5 separate regions of the Homo sapiens genome follow, and regions 1, 3, 4 and 5 are each linked to region 2. The links are contacts of gene promoters, found by promoter capture Hi-C in human tissues and cell types (Jung and others, 2019). All regions are on one chromosome and are shown on one strand. The core of a region is centred on a gene start or on the middle of the fragment in contact, and the rest is flanking DNA. Distances in the headings are between cores, read along the strand shown.

Region 1 (2,700 bases), core at 135-2,634, 780 kb after region 2:
TTCCTGGAAAGTGTGATCCTGTGGGTGCAGCCCCTGCTCGCTTGGCTGTGTTGCCTGCCTGGCCCCTGCTCTAATGAGCCCACTGCCCAGAGTTTGCTCAAACCACCCAATTCCGAGTCTGGGAACCAGGAGACCGCTGGACACCCCGCTCACCACACAGAAGACTGTGGCCTGAGTCAGGAGAAGGAAGTTTCTGGCGGTCGAGCTTCCACGGCTTCCTGAGGGAGGTTGCAGGGAGCCGAGATCGCGCCATTGCGCTATAGCCTGGGCGTCGCAGCGAGACTGTCTCAAAAAAAGAAAAAAAATTCTGAGCGAGATTCCAGGGCTTCCTGAGGGCGCGTTTAAGTTGCAGTTGCTGAGGAGGCTGCAAGGTGAGCTTGCGTCAGCGAGGAGCCACTCCAGCACGCTCGGGAAGGGCATCGTTACTGCTGCAAACAAGCACACGGCCCTCCACGACGAACCTTTTGCAAGTGAAGGCGCACGAACAGGCCCGGAGGACTACAAAGAAACCCAGAAACCAGACTTGGACACATGAAATAAAGGGGTTAGCTGAAGGAATACTCCACAGTTAAGGACGGCCTGCGCGAGGTCACCGGCCCTGTCTTGGTTTTTTGCCACTTCGCTCCAGTTAGTTTCCCAAGTTCCACCTACGCGCGCGCCAGCTGAGAAAACGCCCACCCCGGCGGTCCCGCCACAGGTCACAGGCGGTGCGGACCCCGGGACTGTGTCCGGGCTTCGGTGTCCAGAGAGCTCCAAGACACCCAAACCTTCCGTGGTTTCCACCTCTGCAAGCTTATGTTCCGCTGAGCTCAAGCTGAGGGACGACGACCTCATGCGACGTCAGTTTCCCCCTGGGACCACGAACCCACGGCCCCATTTCTCTTCTGTCTACTAAAAACCTTTTCTTTTCTTTTTTTTTTGAGACCTAAGACATCAGTGAGACACACGAGCAGACACGGGCTCGGTCGGGAAAGGCGGGAGCTCCAAGCGGCGGGGCCTGCAGGTCCAGGCGGTTCGCGGGCTTTCTGACCGCATTCGGCCGAGTTCTTCTCTGAAGACCCAGGACCCCCGGCCGAGGGGGCGCATTCGGCGGGCTGGTGGCGTAGGATTTTGTTTCGGGTTCCCAGGGTCCCGGCAAGGGTGAGGGAGCCCTTGCGGATCCCCTGAGATCCACCTCAGCAGCCTCCTCCGTGGTAGGCCTCAACTTCCCGCGGCGGCCCACAGCCAACGACTAATGCCTGAGCGGGAGAAAACGGCCTGGCCCTGTCCGGGTGGTTGCTGAGCACCGTTCGGCGCCGCCCGCGCCTGCAGGGAGCCCGGCCCGCTGTCCTGGTGGACACAAAGCCCAGGGGCCGCCCGCGCGGGACCAGCAGCGCGAACTTTTTGCCGCTCGGCCAGCCTGGCAGGGGATTTTAAAATCGGCCAATCACAGCGGGCGCCAGGCCTCCGCTTTCCGCTTACTGGTCCTGCCGTAGGAGGCGGGTACGTGAGCGCACCAATCTGTGGCCGGCGAGCGTAAAGGGCGGGGCTCCGCCCAGGCTGCACCGCCCAGAGCGCGCGTGCGCGAGACCGGAAACGCAGCCCCCTGATTGGCGGCGCGTGTCGGGGGCGGGGCCGCGGCTGCGTGACAGTTGTCGCGGGGGGAGGGCGAGCCCAAGCGCGGGGGAGGGAGTGTAAATAGAGCGAAGGCTGCTCTGTGTCAGCCCCGTCACCGCCGGGCGGCCCGCGCGGAGTCTGAGGGAGATGGAAGTTGAGCAAGAGCAGCGGCGCAGAAAGGTGGAGGCCGGGAGGACGAAGGTAAACATTAGGGGCTTCTTCTCTAGCTGCTCTGGCGTGAAGTCCTAAGGGCGGCTCCGGTGCCCGCCACCGCCCCCTGCCAGGAGAGGACGCGGTCCGGCGGAAGCCGCCGCGGAGGTCTCGCTTTTTCCCGCCGGCTCCGCTGGAAGCCGCCTCCTGGCCGCCGCCATCTTGAATCCGCCGCTCTCCGCCAGGTCCCGCCCCCGCCGCGGCCACAGCCAATCAGCGGCCGGGACGCGCGGCGCCTCTCGGGCGGGCCGGGGCGGGGCTGCGCCTGCGTCGGGGGGGGTGGGGCGCGGGCTGGGCGCGGTGCACGCCGGGGCGGGGTGTGGCTGCAGGGCGGGGCTACAGGGGCGTGGCGTGGCTGCACGGAGGGGGTGGGGCGCGGCAGGCGCTGGACCCCAGGCTGGATCTTCCAGTGGCTCCCGCGTCCTCCGGGACCGGGTGGCCTGGGGCGGGCGGCCGGTATTCGGGTGGCTGCTTGGTCTAGGGCCAGTTTCCTGCGCGGCCGGGGCCGGGGGCGTGGCGCGGGTGGCCTGCAGCGCCTCCCCAGGGTGCGCCTTCGCCTCGTCCGTCGGAGATGCTTTCCCCGCGCGTTTCTCGCGGCGTTGCAGTCCTTACTGTGTGAAAGGCCCCCGCGGCGCTCCCGGCCGCCGTCTTCTTCCCGCGCCCTTGGGCTCGCGTCCTGCCCGTCCGGGCCTGGCGTACGCTGCCGGGAACCCACGCGGCGCTGGCGCCGGGCGCCTTCAAGGGACGCGCTCCCGTCTTTCTCCCGCCCCGGGTTTCTCCGTGAAAAAGCGCTCGGTTTGATGGCCACTGTCCTAGGTTTCGTGGGAATAAAGCGCGCAGAGCCCATGACTCGGGGGCAGGAGAAAGGGAGTCCCGAAAGCGCGAGGCGGAACC
Region 2 (2,700 bases), core at 166-2,665:
AAGAAGAAGAAGAAAGCATTGCACACCCTCCCACCCCTGTTCAGATGACCAAGTTCAGGGTTCCTAACAGCATAATTAGACCCTCCGGCTATCACTGCTGCAGGCCCAAACACCCGAGAAGCACTCTTTCTCATCTGTGTCCAGCAGAGATAACTGTACTATCTGGAATTATAAAAATCCACCAAAGCCCCTTCGGAAAGAAAGCAATTAGCAATTGCAACAAGCAGTGCACAGGTGGCACCCAGGCAAAGGCGGCCAGTGAGATGCAGCCTGGCTCCCAGGCCTGGACAGGGCAGGCAGGTGCACTGGGCCAGAGGCACCTCGGCTCTGCTGATTGAATCTGGGCTGTGCGGGGATCCTCGGGTCTCCGTAGGGGGAGGCCACCTCTTTACAGGGCGGCCAACAGGCGCCTCCAAGGACTTTATCCCACCTTCCCTCTGGATGCATTCTGGATTTCGGGGCCAGCTTAGTTGGCCTGTGTCCTGAGGCCAGGCAGGCCAGACTCCCCAGGACAGGAGTTTCCGATGGACAGGACCCTAGGGGGATGGCTTTCCTGCTGTAGCGGTGTTGGAAGGACCCACTCGGGAAAGGCTCCAGCGGCTGTCCAGGCTCTCTCTGAGACGCCTCGGGATTGCTCCGCTGGATCCGCACCCACAGCTGCTCCAAGGGGAAGTTGCACCTACAAAGCTTCTGGCACAGGAGACAATGGTCTGGAGATGTGCCAGGGGCCCGCCCCACGCGTGGCTGGCAGGGTTCACCCACCGGCTGGCCCGTCCCGAAGCAACACGTGCCTGGGCGCGAACGCCGGATCCACGCTTTCCTCCAGACCCGGGGGTGGGACTTGGCGCCCCAGGATGACGCGGAGGGCAGGCTGGGGGCCGGGACTCCCCACCCCATTCGCAGGCTGCGGCGGAAAGCGAGCGGCGGGAAACCCGCTGCACAGCAACGGTTCTGCCAGGCGCCCGGGCCACCGCGACCCCCGCGGAGACCCCGGCCCACGCCCCGCACCCTCCCCAGGGCCCCCCAGACCCCAGGCTGCAGACCGCAGACCCCGGCCACGCCCCGCACCCTCCCCAGGGCCCCCCAGACCCCAGGCTGCAGACCGCAGACCCCGGCCCACGCCCCGCACCCTCCCCAGGGCCCCGCGGACCCCAGGCTGCAGACCGCAGACCCCGGCCCACGCCCCGCACCCTCCCCAGGGCCCCGCGGACCCCAGCGCCAGCCCCCACACTCACCTCACAGGGCCCTGCAAACCTCGGCCCGCGCCCCGCACTCACCCCAGGGCCCCGAGACACCCCGCAGCCCCCGACACGCGGCCCCGTGGCCCCGTTCCCCACCGGTACCTGCGACTCGGCGGGGCGGCTGCCCTGGGGCTCCCGGACCCGGCCCCGCGCACGCGGACTCCGGGACTACAGCGCCCACAAGGCGGCGCGGCGGGCGCGCGGCTGCGGGGTGGGCGGGTCCGTCCCGCCGAACGCGTCCTGAGGGCGGGGCCTCGCGCGTGGCCGGGCGCTGCGGCAGGAGCGTCCCCACGGGGCACCCTCCCACCCACGGCCGTCTCCCAGCCCCGGCGCCGGCCTCTCCCCACCCGGTCACCGCCGGGGTCACGCGGCCCCTCGTGCTGCGGCCCTACCCCTGGGGCCGCCCCCTGACCCCGACCGCCCCTCGGGCCCCCACCCCCGCCGGCGTCAGCATCCTGGGGTGCCACTCGCGGAGGTGTCGGTCCCTCGGGCGGGCACCCTGCCATCCCTCTCCCCCGCGTTCTTCCCACCCCCGGTCCCCTCCTGACCCCCCCTCCTCGACGAGGCCTTGTGCGTTTTCCTTTTGGCACCCTGGAACACCTGCATTCCTGGCCGCAAGCTGGATCCGGGACGCGGGTCGGGCCCACGCGCCCTCAGGGGTGGCCCTGGGCCGCCTTCGTGGGGCTCCAACAGGGACACGCACAGCCTGCTCTTGGGGACCGCACGGCCCCGAACTCGGCGCCCCCGGGACCCCGCCGCCCGCCCTCCTGCCTGACCGTGACCCGTACGGGCTTGTACCAAGGAGCAAGCCGGATCCAGGACGTGGCCCGGGGCCACCAGTCCCCATCCCAGCAGGGACAGCCCGGGGGAGACCCGCGCAGGCCTCGCAGACGGCAGCGCAGTCACACTCAGGAAGGGGGGCCTGGGCCACTCTCCCAGGAAGGCGTGGGGCTGCGGCAGACAGCACCGCCGAAAGCCCAAGGCCTGTGCAGGACACGGGGAGAAGTGGGGGGCCTCAGGGTCACTTTCCCCTGGAGTTACCCAGGGCCTGGCTATGGGGAGGGAAGCCAAGCCGAGGGCTGTGGGGGCCCCAAGGCTAAGGAGGAGCCAGGAAGTCCACTGCACAGAACAGAAGGGGACGGCCACCGTGGTACCCACAGCTCAAGAGTGCGGGTCCCAGGCGAGGGGTGAGTCTGGGGCAGCAGCCCCTGGAATGTACCCCTTCCGGAGTGTAGACAGCACAATCCGCGACCTGCCTCCTGGTGTTGCGGGGGTGCTCTTGGTCTCCCGCCCACCAGCAGGGCAACCCCACCAGGAAGCCAACACAGGGCCCTTGCCCTAAATGGCCGCCTGCCCAAAGCTCTGGCCTGGGCCTTCTTTCCAGAGTCCTGAGTGTAGCAAGCCACACGAACAAATCTCAAAGGAACTTAAAAAGGATTTGTTGGCTGGAAATGGGGGA
Region 3 (2,804 bases), core at 99-2,598, 920 kb after region 2:
AGGGATCCAAACTTAGTGGAAGAGTATTGCCTTGTTTGGGTGTTTTGCTATTTTTGGAGTTCAGTCAAACAGGGATGTTAATTCCTGGGCCTGGTTCTTGTCTTTGACCTGCTGCAGTAAATGAAGCTTCTCTATATGTAACGGGACAGATTCACTGGCTTACAACTGTTTGTTGCTTGCCTTCAGCTGACCACTATTCTTAAGAGTCTCGGTTGGCACTAAGCAATAGCTATCCAATCCCCCTTTCCTTCCTTTTATCTACTACGTTCACCATATATGAAATGTCTGATACTTCACCCACTCGTGGATTCCATTTCACTAGTTCACCCTCCTACTTCACCACTGGTGAGTGATGCAGCCTCGAATCCCATCTTCTCACCAGCTTTAATGCTGCAGAATGGTTTCTCCAGAAGCAGACGCTGCGACTGAGTTTGGGGTACGAGGATGTTGACATGGTATCAACACCCGTGAAAGGAAGGGGAAGGAAGCAGGACTGGGCGGAGGAAGAAGGGTATGTAAGTCCCGCAAAGCTTTGGCCAACCTCGTGTGGAGCTCTGGAACGAGAACTGCTGAAGTTCGCCAGACTCGGGCACTCCTGCCTAACTCAGTAACAGGCGGGCGGCATCGGGACACGGACACGCTGCTCAGGCCCCGCCACAGCCACCCTCGCACCGTCAGACACACTCCCACACATTCGGGGAGCAGGGCCTTCAGGACGCCGGCGGCGCCCTCTCAGTCTAGCTCCGCCAGGCCCCTCGTCCGTCCTCCCGCCCTCCAAGGTCACCTCGCGGTCCGACATGGCTGCTGGGGCTCCTTCGGGGCCAACGATGTGTACTTCTAGGGCTGTTTTTTAAAGCAAAGGAGTGAACACAGGTAAAGGCACGAGAAAGGTGCCTCGACGCCACCACGGACTGCGCAGCGTTCGCGATCAGCACAGCCCGAAAGGGAAGACAGCGGTCAACGCGGACGCGCCATGGCGCGGGGACCAAGGAGGAGCCCCGAGAGGGGCGGGGCTGGCCGGAGGGCCGCGCGCGGGGCCACCAGCGGCGCCTAGGGGTCAGCGCCAACGCCCACGGGTTGGTCATCCCCACTTAGGCGCCTCGGGCCGCAACTAAGCAGCCTGCCCGCCTCAAGCCCGCCACCCTCAAGCAGGCCCAGCGCAGAGCCTGTCGGGAGCGGCGCTCTCCCGCCTCTCCCAATGGGAGCCCGGAGCGGCATCGACGCGTCTTCGGGGCCAATGGAAGCGAGGCTCTGGTGTTGCTGGGCGGGGCCGGGAGGGCTGCGCGGGCCCGAGACCCACTGCGCACGCGCGCTCGCTACCCGCCCTTCCCGCCGCGCACGCGCTCCCGTGTAGGGCCGGCCGGGCGCTCAGGAGCGCGCGGGGCAGCGGCGGCGCGGCGGAGCCATCCGCGCTCGTGCCCGCGCGGGTGCGTTGCTGTCCTGGCCGCGCCCCTGTCCCGCCGCCTCCCGCTCCTCGCCTGGCGGATGTAGGTTGTTGGCCTGAGGGGAGCTACGTAGCCGAGGTTTGCGCTGCCGCCGCCAGGCCCGGTCCGGTTCCAGCCTCTGCCCGGACGCTAGCCGGCCTGGCCATGGCTGACCGCGGGTGCCCGCTGGAGGCGGCGCCGCTGCCTGCCGAGGTGCGGGAGAGCCTGGCTGAGCTGGAGCTGGAGCTGTCGGAAGGTGAGCCGGACCCCGCCCTCAACCCCCGCGACCCGCCCTCAGCCCGGTCCCCCGCGCAGCCCCTCACTCCGGGACCCCCGCGCGGCCCCTCACTCCAGGACCCCCGCCCTTCACCCCCGGGACCCCCACGCGGCCTCGCCCCTGGGACCTCTGCCCCTCAACGGGACCCCGGTTCCTCTACCCTGGAACCCGCCCCTCGCCCCGGAGACACCGTTCCTCAACCCTAGGACCCCGCCCCTCATGTGGGACCCCAGCACGACCCCTCGCCCCGAGACCCCGGCCCCTTACCCCCGGGAACTCCCGCCCCTCACCCCCGGGACCTCCTGCCCCTCACCCCCGGAACCCCGCGCGGCCCCTCACCCCGGGGACCCCGCCCTTCACCCTGGGAGCCCCGCGCTGCCCCTCCGGACTCCCGACCCTCAGCCCCGGGACACCCGCGCGGCCCCTCAAACCAGGGACCACTGCCCCGCCTCTCATACAAGGACCCCTCCCCCATACAAGGACTCCTCCCCCCAGGCCCTTCACACCTGGGACCCTTACTCCTCACCCCGGGACGCCTGCCAAACTTCTGGAGACCTTTCCCTATCCCCAGCTGCTCCCCCAATGGGATCCGACCCCAAGGACTGGCTTTGACTAGGTCGTTTGGACAGGTGTGAGAATCTTGAGAGGAATGACCACTTTTGCCCCAAGCTGTGAGCCCCGCTTTTCTCAAGGCTGTAGGTCTGGGCTTGGTCTGGGCTTCACCAGGATGACTGCGCCCGTTGTCCGCAGGCAGCTACTTCCCTTGGAGCTGGGAGCCCTTGCCGCGCGCCTCATACTCTAGGAGCTGCACCCTGTGCCTCATTTTATTATCTATAAAGTGGGGTTATACCAGCACTTTCCATTTTGGATTGTTATGAGGCTAAAATACCTTAATATATGCAAAGCACATAACACTTAGGAGTTGTTAGCCCCCTCATGGAATTTTTTAAAGTAAAAAAAAAAAGTCGTATAAATGGTTGGTTGATAAAAATAGACTGGAGTAATCTGGCTTCAGAGGTGGTGGGTGGCATTTCCCATTTGGATGTTATCCCTTTCAAGGCCTGTGTCCTGATATTCCTTTTGGCTGTCTTTGGGAAAGAGTT
Region 4 (2,700 bases), core at 111-2,610, 590 kb before region 2:
CATTACAGCCCTCCTGGAGCGAGGCCTCTGGCCAGCCGTCTCTGGCTGTGGCTCTCAGCCCAGGGTTCTGGTGCATATTCCTTCCACCGCCCTGCTGTGGGTTTTCTGCACTGAAGAGCCCCGGGCTGGATGAAGGGGACCATGGGACCTCACAGAGGGCTCAGACGGAGGGACAGGCCTCCACTTCCCCTGCCCTGGGATGTGAAGCACCAGCTTGGCAGGGTGGCAGGGCCCACAGACCCTCATGGGTGGGACCTGCAGACCCTTAGAGGAGTAGCCCCACAGGCGGAGGGGCTTGCCCTGGTCTGGGGGCCCCAGCCCCTTTTCTTCAGGCCTCCGAGGTATCCAGGCGCCTCAGTGGGGTCCTTTGCATCTTGGCTGCTCCTCACCATGTTCCTCCCTCTCTCCAGGAACAGTTCTGTTTTTTTGGTGTGGTCTCCTCAGCTCCTGATTGGCTGGTGCCCTGCGTCCCTACCCCCACCCCACCCCGGGTTTGTGCTGGGGCCTGAGTGCCCATGTCATGCAGATACTGCATCCTGTGACTTGGCCGCCACCCTTCAATGACCCGCCTGGCTATGGAGGTGAGGTGGCGGCCTGTGGGTGCCTGTCTGCCTGGCTTAGTGCAACACCGCCTTCCCAAGATGTGTCTCATCGTCCGTGCCCTGCCTGAGTCAGGAATAGCACTGCATGCTGCGTCTCTGGCCAAGGAGCTGGGTGGCCCAGGGGAGGGGTCTAGGCTGTGGCCCATCACCTGGTGGACACCCGTGTGCCCATCTGCACCCCTCCTCCCCCACTCTAGCCCTGGGAAGTGGTGGGGCTTGTTAGTCCCTGTGACTGACAAGTTCGTGGCATCGTTCCTATCCTGTGACTGACAAGTTCATGGCATCGTTCCTATCCTGTGACTGACAAGTTCATGGCATCGTTCCTATGTTTTTTTTCAAGCCCTTCGGATCCCAGCTCGCCAGGAAGCCACATCTGACCCCCTGTTCCCTTCCTGTGCCCTGGAGCCTGCCTTACCCTTACGGGCATCCTGGGAGGGACCCTCTGAGCTCTGCAGCCTCCTGCTACGGGAGGAGGAGGGCATGGGTGCAGGGCTGAGGCTGGCCTAGAGTCCCCTCCCCGCCCCAGCTCTCTAAGACCCCCTGCACCTCCCCAGCAGGACTCAGCTTTGCCTGTGGGCCGGGTTGTGCATGCAGGGGCTTTGCGGCAGCCTGTGGACCCCATGTCGGGGCTACAGCTCCTCCATGTCCGCTCTGGGGGTGGCGAGGGACCTGTGGCAGAGCCGGGGTGAGCACCCGTCTCCTGAGCCTCCCCCAACGCAGTGCCACCTGCTGTGCGTGCTGTGTGGCCAGCTCTAGCTGGCTTGTGCAATACCAGAGCCTGGCAGCCGGCCGGGTGTCCAGTGGTGGCTGATCCTCCAGCCTTGGGCACGGCTCCAATCCTTGGCATCGGACATCCGGGGAGCTGGTCATGCAGCATCGGGCGATCGGGCATCCGGGGAGGTGGTCGTGGAGCATCGGGCGGTCCGGGAATCTGGTCGTGGAGCATCGGGCGGTCCGGGGAGCTGGTCGTGAAGCATCGGGCGGTCCGGGGAGCTGGTCGTGGAGCATCGGGCGGTCCGGGGAGCTGGTCGTGGAGCATCGGGCGTCCGGGGAGCTGGTCGTGGAGCATCGGGCGTCCGGGGAGCTGGTCATGCAGCATCGGGCGGTCCGGGGAGCTGGTCGTGGAGCACCGGGCGTCTGGGGAGCTGGTCATGGAGCACGCTTAGAATTGGATTTCTAGTTCTGTGTTCCTTCATACCAGAAAACGAGCCCACCTGTTTTCAGACAGGCACTTGGGACTCAAGCTCAGAGACACAGGCAGGGTGGGGCAAGGCCTGGTATGGACTCAGAGCCGGGTGGGGCTGGGGGCCCCTGGAGCAGAGGATGTTGGGAGGCCTGTCACCATTGCTGGAGAGGGAGCTCACAGCATGGTGGACGGCTTGGGGGCGGTGGGGGCATGAGAGGCGCCGGTGGTGGTACAGGATTTTGGGGGTGTTGCTTTTCTGGCCAGATACCTGTGGCCGGTGGCACCTTTGCTTGAGTTTTGTCCAGGCCCACTGGGCTCATTTCACCTACTTGGCCTGGCAGGCTGAGCTCAGCTCATGCTACTGGCCTGGATCTCATGCCTCCAAGGGAGACTGGAGTCAGGCGTGGAGCGGTGAAGTGTGTGTGTGAGCAAGTGTGGGGTCCGGCCATTGCAGGCCAGCGCCAAGCCACCCTCAGCCCCCGCCTTGGCTTCCTCCCAGAGCTTGTTGATGCCCAAGGTCCAGAGGGGGCCAAGGTGGCAGGGCCTGAGTGTGTGCACACCCGGCCGGGCTCTGACAGCACCTGGGCTCAGCCCCAACCCCCCTTTGAGATTGGAGTGGGCGTTGGAAGCAGGGAGAGGCCAGGCAGCAGGAGCAGGCATCTCTGAGTCTGCAAGGGTAAGAGTGCAGAGAGGCCAGGGTCCCGAGCCCCGACTTGGCTGCTGCTTGCTCCCGCTCCTGCTGGCTCTGTGGAGCATGCAGCCCTGGCTCCCCCTCGCACGGTTTGTGGCCTTGCCCGGGGGCTGCTCCTGATCAGGGAGTGGATTGTGGGCCCTGGGCCCTGGGCCCGGCTGTCAGGAGTGTCGGGCCTGGCAGTCACACCGATGTGGGGTGGATCCTAGGGATGCAGCCCA
Region 5 (2,752 bases), core at 91-2,590, 620 kb before region 2:
CTCATTTCTGTGAAGCCTCCAGAATCCGGCCTCAGCCCCCAAACCCGCAGGCGTTGCGCCACCGTCACGGGGAAGGCGAGTGACAGCGAGTGTCCCCTATGCCCCCACAGCTCGCTCCCAGGCTGAGCTCTCCGGCCATCCCCCCCCTTCCCCATTGCAGCCATGCCACCCCTCCTTCTCCCCACCCAGGAACTGACAGAGGAGAGGGGCCCCGGATGGACAGGGACAGCAGGGCAGAATCCCAGCTCCCAGATCCAGGGGAGGGGGGATTGGGTGTGGGGACGGTGGTGCAAGGGGTGGTGCCAGGGGTGGAGGATGCATGGGGAGGGCTGGCCCCAAGAGTGCAGTGTTGGGGGAAGGGGGCCAGGTGGGCCTGGGACCCAGGGGCGTGGCTTCAATCCCCCTCCCACCAGGACCTTGGGAATGGCCTCCAGGAGCCTGTTGTGGGGAGGCCAGGGTCACCAGCTGAACCAACTCGACCAGAATCGCACAGCGGTGCCCGCTCCCCTACAGCAAGACGTCACCCAGGGGTCCCCACGGAGGAGGCAGGGAAGCTCGAGGGTCCCAGAGGAGCATGGAGCATGTGCCACACCACACCACACTACATTACACATGTGCACCATACATGTACATACAACAGACTCCCCACATCACATGCGCACACTCGCACACCATACATGCACACACACACACCACACTACGCTATGCCACACACGTGCACCATACATGCACACCATGCCACACTACACACACGACACTACACACCACGAACCACACCACACCATATCACACACCACACACTGCGAGTCGATCTGGAGATGGAATCGCTGTAGCCAGGCGGGGCAGCATGCAGACAGGAGGGCCTAACACAGGCAGGCGCAGCAGGTTCACAGAGGAGGCCCCGGGAACCTGCCTCCTGCCCAGCCCGGAGCACCAGGACCCCCCAGCCGTCCCCCTAGGGGCTTGTGGGCCCAGCCTCTTCCTGGCCTTGCCGGCCTCACAGCCCCTTGTCCTCCCATGCCGGCCCCATCCTCAGCCGCAAGCGCTCCCAGCACACCATGTGGCTCTGCTCTTGGTGGCAGGCACTTCCCCTTGCCGGGTCTCAAAGGGGACCCTGGAGCAGACGGTCTGGAGACCCCTTCCTGCCAGACACCCCTGGGCCGGGGCTATAAGCAGGGCCACCAGGGTCACTCCAGGCTGGGGCAGGAGAGTGCTTCCCTCCAAAAATCACCGTGGACATAGCGGGGCCTCTGCACACTCACCCTCGGTGTGCTGGAGTCCTCGGCGGTGCTCCTGGCTGGGCGTGGGGGCTTTGCTACCAGTCTGCCCTGGGTCACGTCTAGAAACCTCAGCTGGAGGCGCGGGTCGTAAAGTCCTGACACTTCCTGTTCCTCTCAGCTCCTCCTTGGAGGAAGTGGTGGGTTGCACCACCGTGGCCCTTCACCCCTGCCCCTCTCCGCTCTACAGCAGCTCTGATGTCAGAGAGCGGCCCCTTGAGACAGGTGGGACATGTCATTTCTCACATGAGGTCCCGGCGAGAAGGACCTGCTTCCATCAGATTCACACTTGGGAGAGGGGCCCGGCCTCCAGGAGCGCCAGGCAGAAAGGGCACCCATTAGGAAGAAGAACACAGAGGCCATGGGAGTGAAAAGTTTGATGCTGGAAAGCAACAGTAGCACATTCTGCTACAGAGCGGAATGAAAAACCCTGGGGAGCAAATTCCTGAGCCAGAGAATGGAGCGGAGGAACCAGCCAAGGAGGATAAAGAGGTGGGAACAGGCAAGAAAACCTGGGTGCGTGCACGCATTGACATCCACCTGCATGTGAGGGCGGGAGGGGACAGAACAGGGACAGCGAGGAGGAGACACTCAGGTCACAGGAGGAAGGCTGCGGATCTGGGCGGGGACGTGGATTGCGAGGCCACTGAACACCCCAGGGATGGATGGATGAGGTCCTGTTAACTAGGGACATTAGGAGGATACCACAGAACACGAAAGGGAAAATACTACAGGCTCAGAGAGAGAGAGAAGGGAGAGGAGGAGGAGGAGGAAGAGGAGGGAAAGAGATTATACCTAGAAAAAAAACCCAAATCAGACATCTTCAGAGCAAGGACTCAGACACATTACTACCCTAAACTCTGTTTTATTTATTTATTTATTTTTATGTTTTCAGTTTTTTTTGAGACAGAGTTTTGCTTTTGTCACCCAGGCTGGAGTGCAGTGGCGTGATCTCAGCTCACTGCAACCTCTGCCTCCCGGGTTCAAGCAATTCTCCTGCCTCAGCCTCCCAAGTAGCTGGGATTACAGGCACATGTACCACCACGCCTGGGTAATTTTTGTATTCTTAGTAGAGACAGGGTTTCACTATGTTGACCAGGCTGGTCTTGAACTCCTGGCTTCAAGTGATCCATCCACCTCTGCCTTCCAAAGTGCTGGGATTACTGGCGTGAGCCATGGCTCCCGGCTCCTAAACTCTGTTTTAAAGATGTCTTGCAGAAATAGACATGAAGAAATCCATGAGAAATACAAGAGCAGATGATACAAAGTTGGGCAAAGAAATAAGTAAAAATTATGATGTCATAACCTGTTGATTTAAAAAATAGTGGTAAGAATATTAACGCTGTGAAACAAAACGCCTAGAGGACTGGGTTGGGAGGGGCCAGGGAGCACATTGCCGTTCCATCCTATCTGGGGAGGAATATAGATGCTTGTCAGTGGGCATTTTGATAGAAAATATCTAAGTATATATGCTA

Evidence for each region. Contacts are between HindIII fragments. The study calls those that stand out against the background at their distance.
Region 1: a contact is called between the fragment with the promoter of C21orf58 here and the fragment with the promoter of SLC19A1 in region 2, in 1 of the 25 tissues and cell types used here (stomach).
Region 3: the fragment with the promoter of DIP2A here is called in contact with the fragment with the promoter of SLC19A1 in region 2 in 1 of the 25 tissues and cell types used here (mesendoderm cells).
Region 4: a fragment that was not itself captured here is called in contact with the fragment with the promoter of SLC19A1 in region 2 in 1 of the 25 tissues and cell types used here (lymphoblastoid cells).
Region 5: a contact is called between the fragment with the promoter of ITGB2 here and the fragment with the promoter of SLC19A1 in region 2, in 2 of the 25 tissues and cell types used here (lymphoblastoid cells and spleen).

What each region holds. Positions count from the first base shown.
Region 1 is chr21:46,322,486-46,325,185 of GRCh38, forward strand. It overlaps C21orf58 (chromosome 21 open reading frame 58), which reads right to left and starts at 1,385. Exons shown (of 8, transcript NM_058180.5): 1 at 154-1,385. The coding sequence starts at 253. PCNT (pericentrin) reads left to right here and starts at 1,671. Exons shown (of 47, transcript NM_006031.6): 1 at 1,671-1,797. The coding sequence starts at 1,744. RefSeq lists an enhancer at 914-1,053 and silencers at 1,404-1,733, 2,004-2,463. The HindIII fragment of the contact is 24,092 bases long and covers 1-2,700 here.
Region 2 is chr21:45,541,025-45,543,724 of GRCh38, forward strand. It overlaps SLC19A1 (solute carrier family 19 member 1), which reads right to left and starts at 1,416. Exons shown (of 6, transcript NM_194255.4): 1 at 1,344-1,416. RefSeq lists silencers at 850-909, 1,260-1,569, 1,610-1,689 and an enhancer at 1,544-2,056. The HindIII fragment of the contact is 13,138 bases long and covers 1-2,700 here.
Region 3 is chr21:46,457,543-46,460,346 of GRCh38, forward strand. DIP2A (disco interacting protein 2 homolog A) reads left to right here and starts at 1,349. Exons shown (of 38, transcript NM_015151.4): 1 at 1,349-1,680. The coding sequence starts at 1,590. LOC124905046 (a long non-coding RNA gene) reads right to left here and starts at 1,171. Exons shown (of 2, transcript XR_007067915.1): 1 at 785-1,171. RefSeq lists enhancers at 563-702, 2,473-2,542 and silencers at 943-1,492, 1,683-1,752. The HindIII fragment of the contact is 5,308 bases long and covers 329-2,804 here.
Region 4 is chr21:44,946,688-44,949,387 of GRCh38, forward strand. The region is part of intron 2 of SLX9 (SLX9 ribosome biogenesis factor); the gene reads left to right. Among named protein-coding and RNA genes, the nearest start is that of SLX9, 8.0 kb to the left of the region's middle. The HindIII fragment of the contact is 5,432 bases long and covers 1-2,700 here.
Region 5 is chr21:44,919,559-44,922,310 of GRCh38, forward strand. ITGB2 (integrin subunit beta 2) reads right to left here and starts at 1,341. Exons shown (of 16, transcript NM_000211.5): 1 at 1,263-1,341. ITGB2-AS1 (ITGB2 antisense RNA 1) reads left to right here and starts at 1,477. Exons shown (of 3, transcript NR_038316.1): 1 at 1,477-1,769. The HindIII fragment of the contact is 46,650 bases long and covers 1-2,752 here.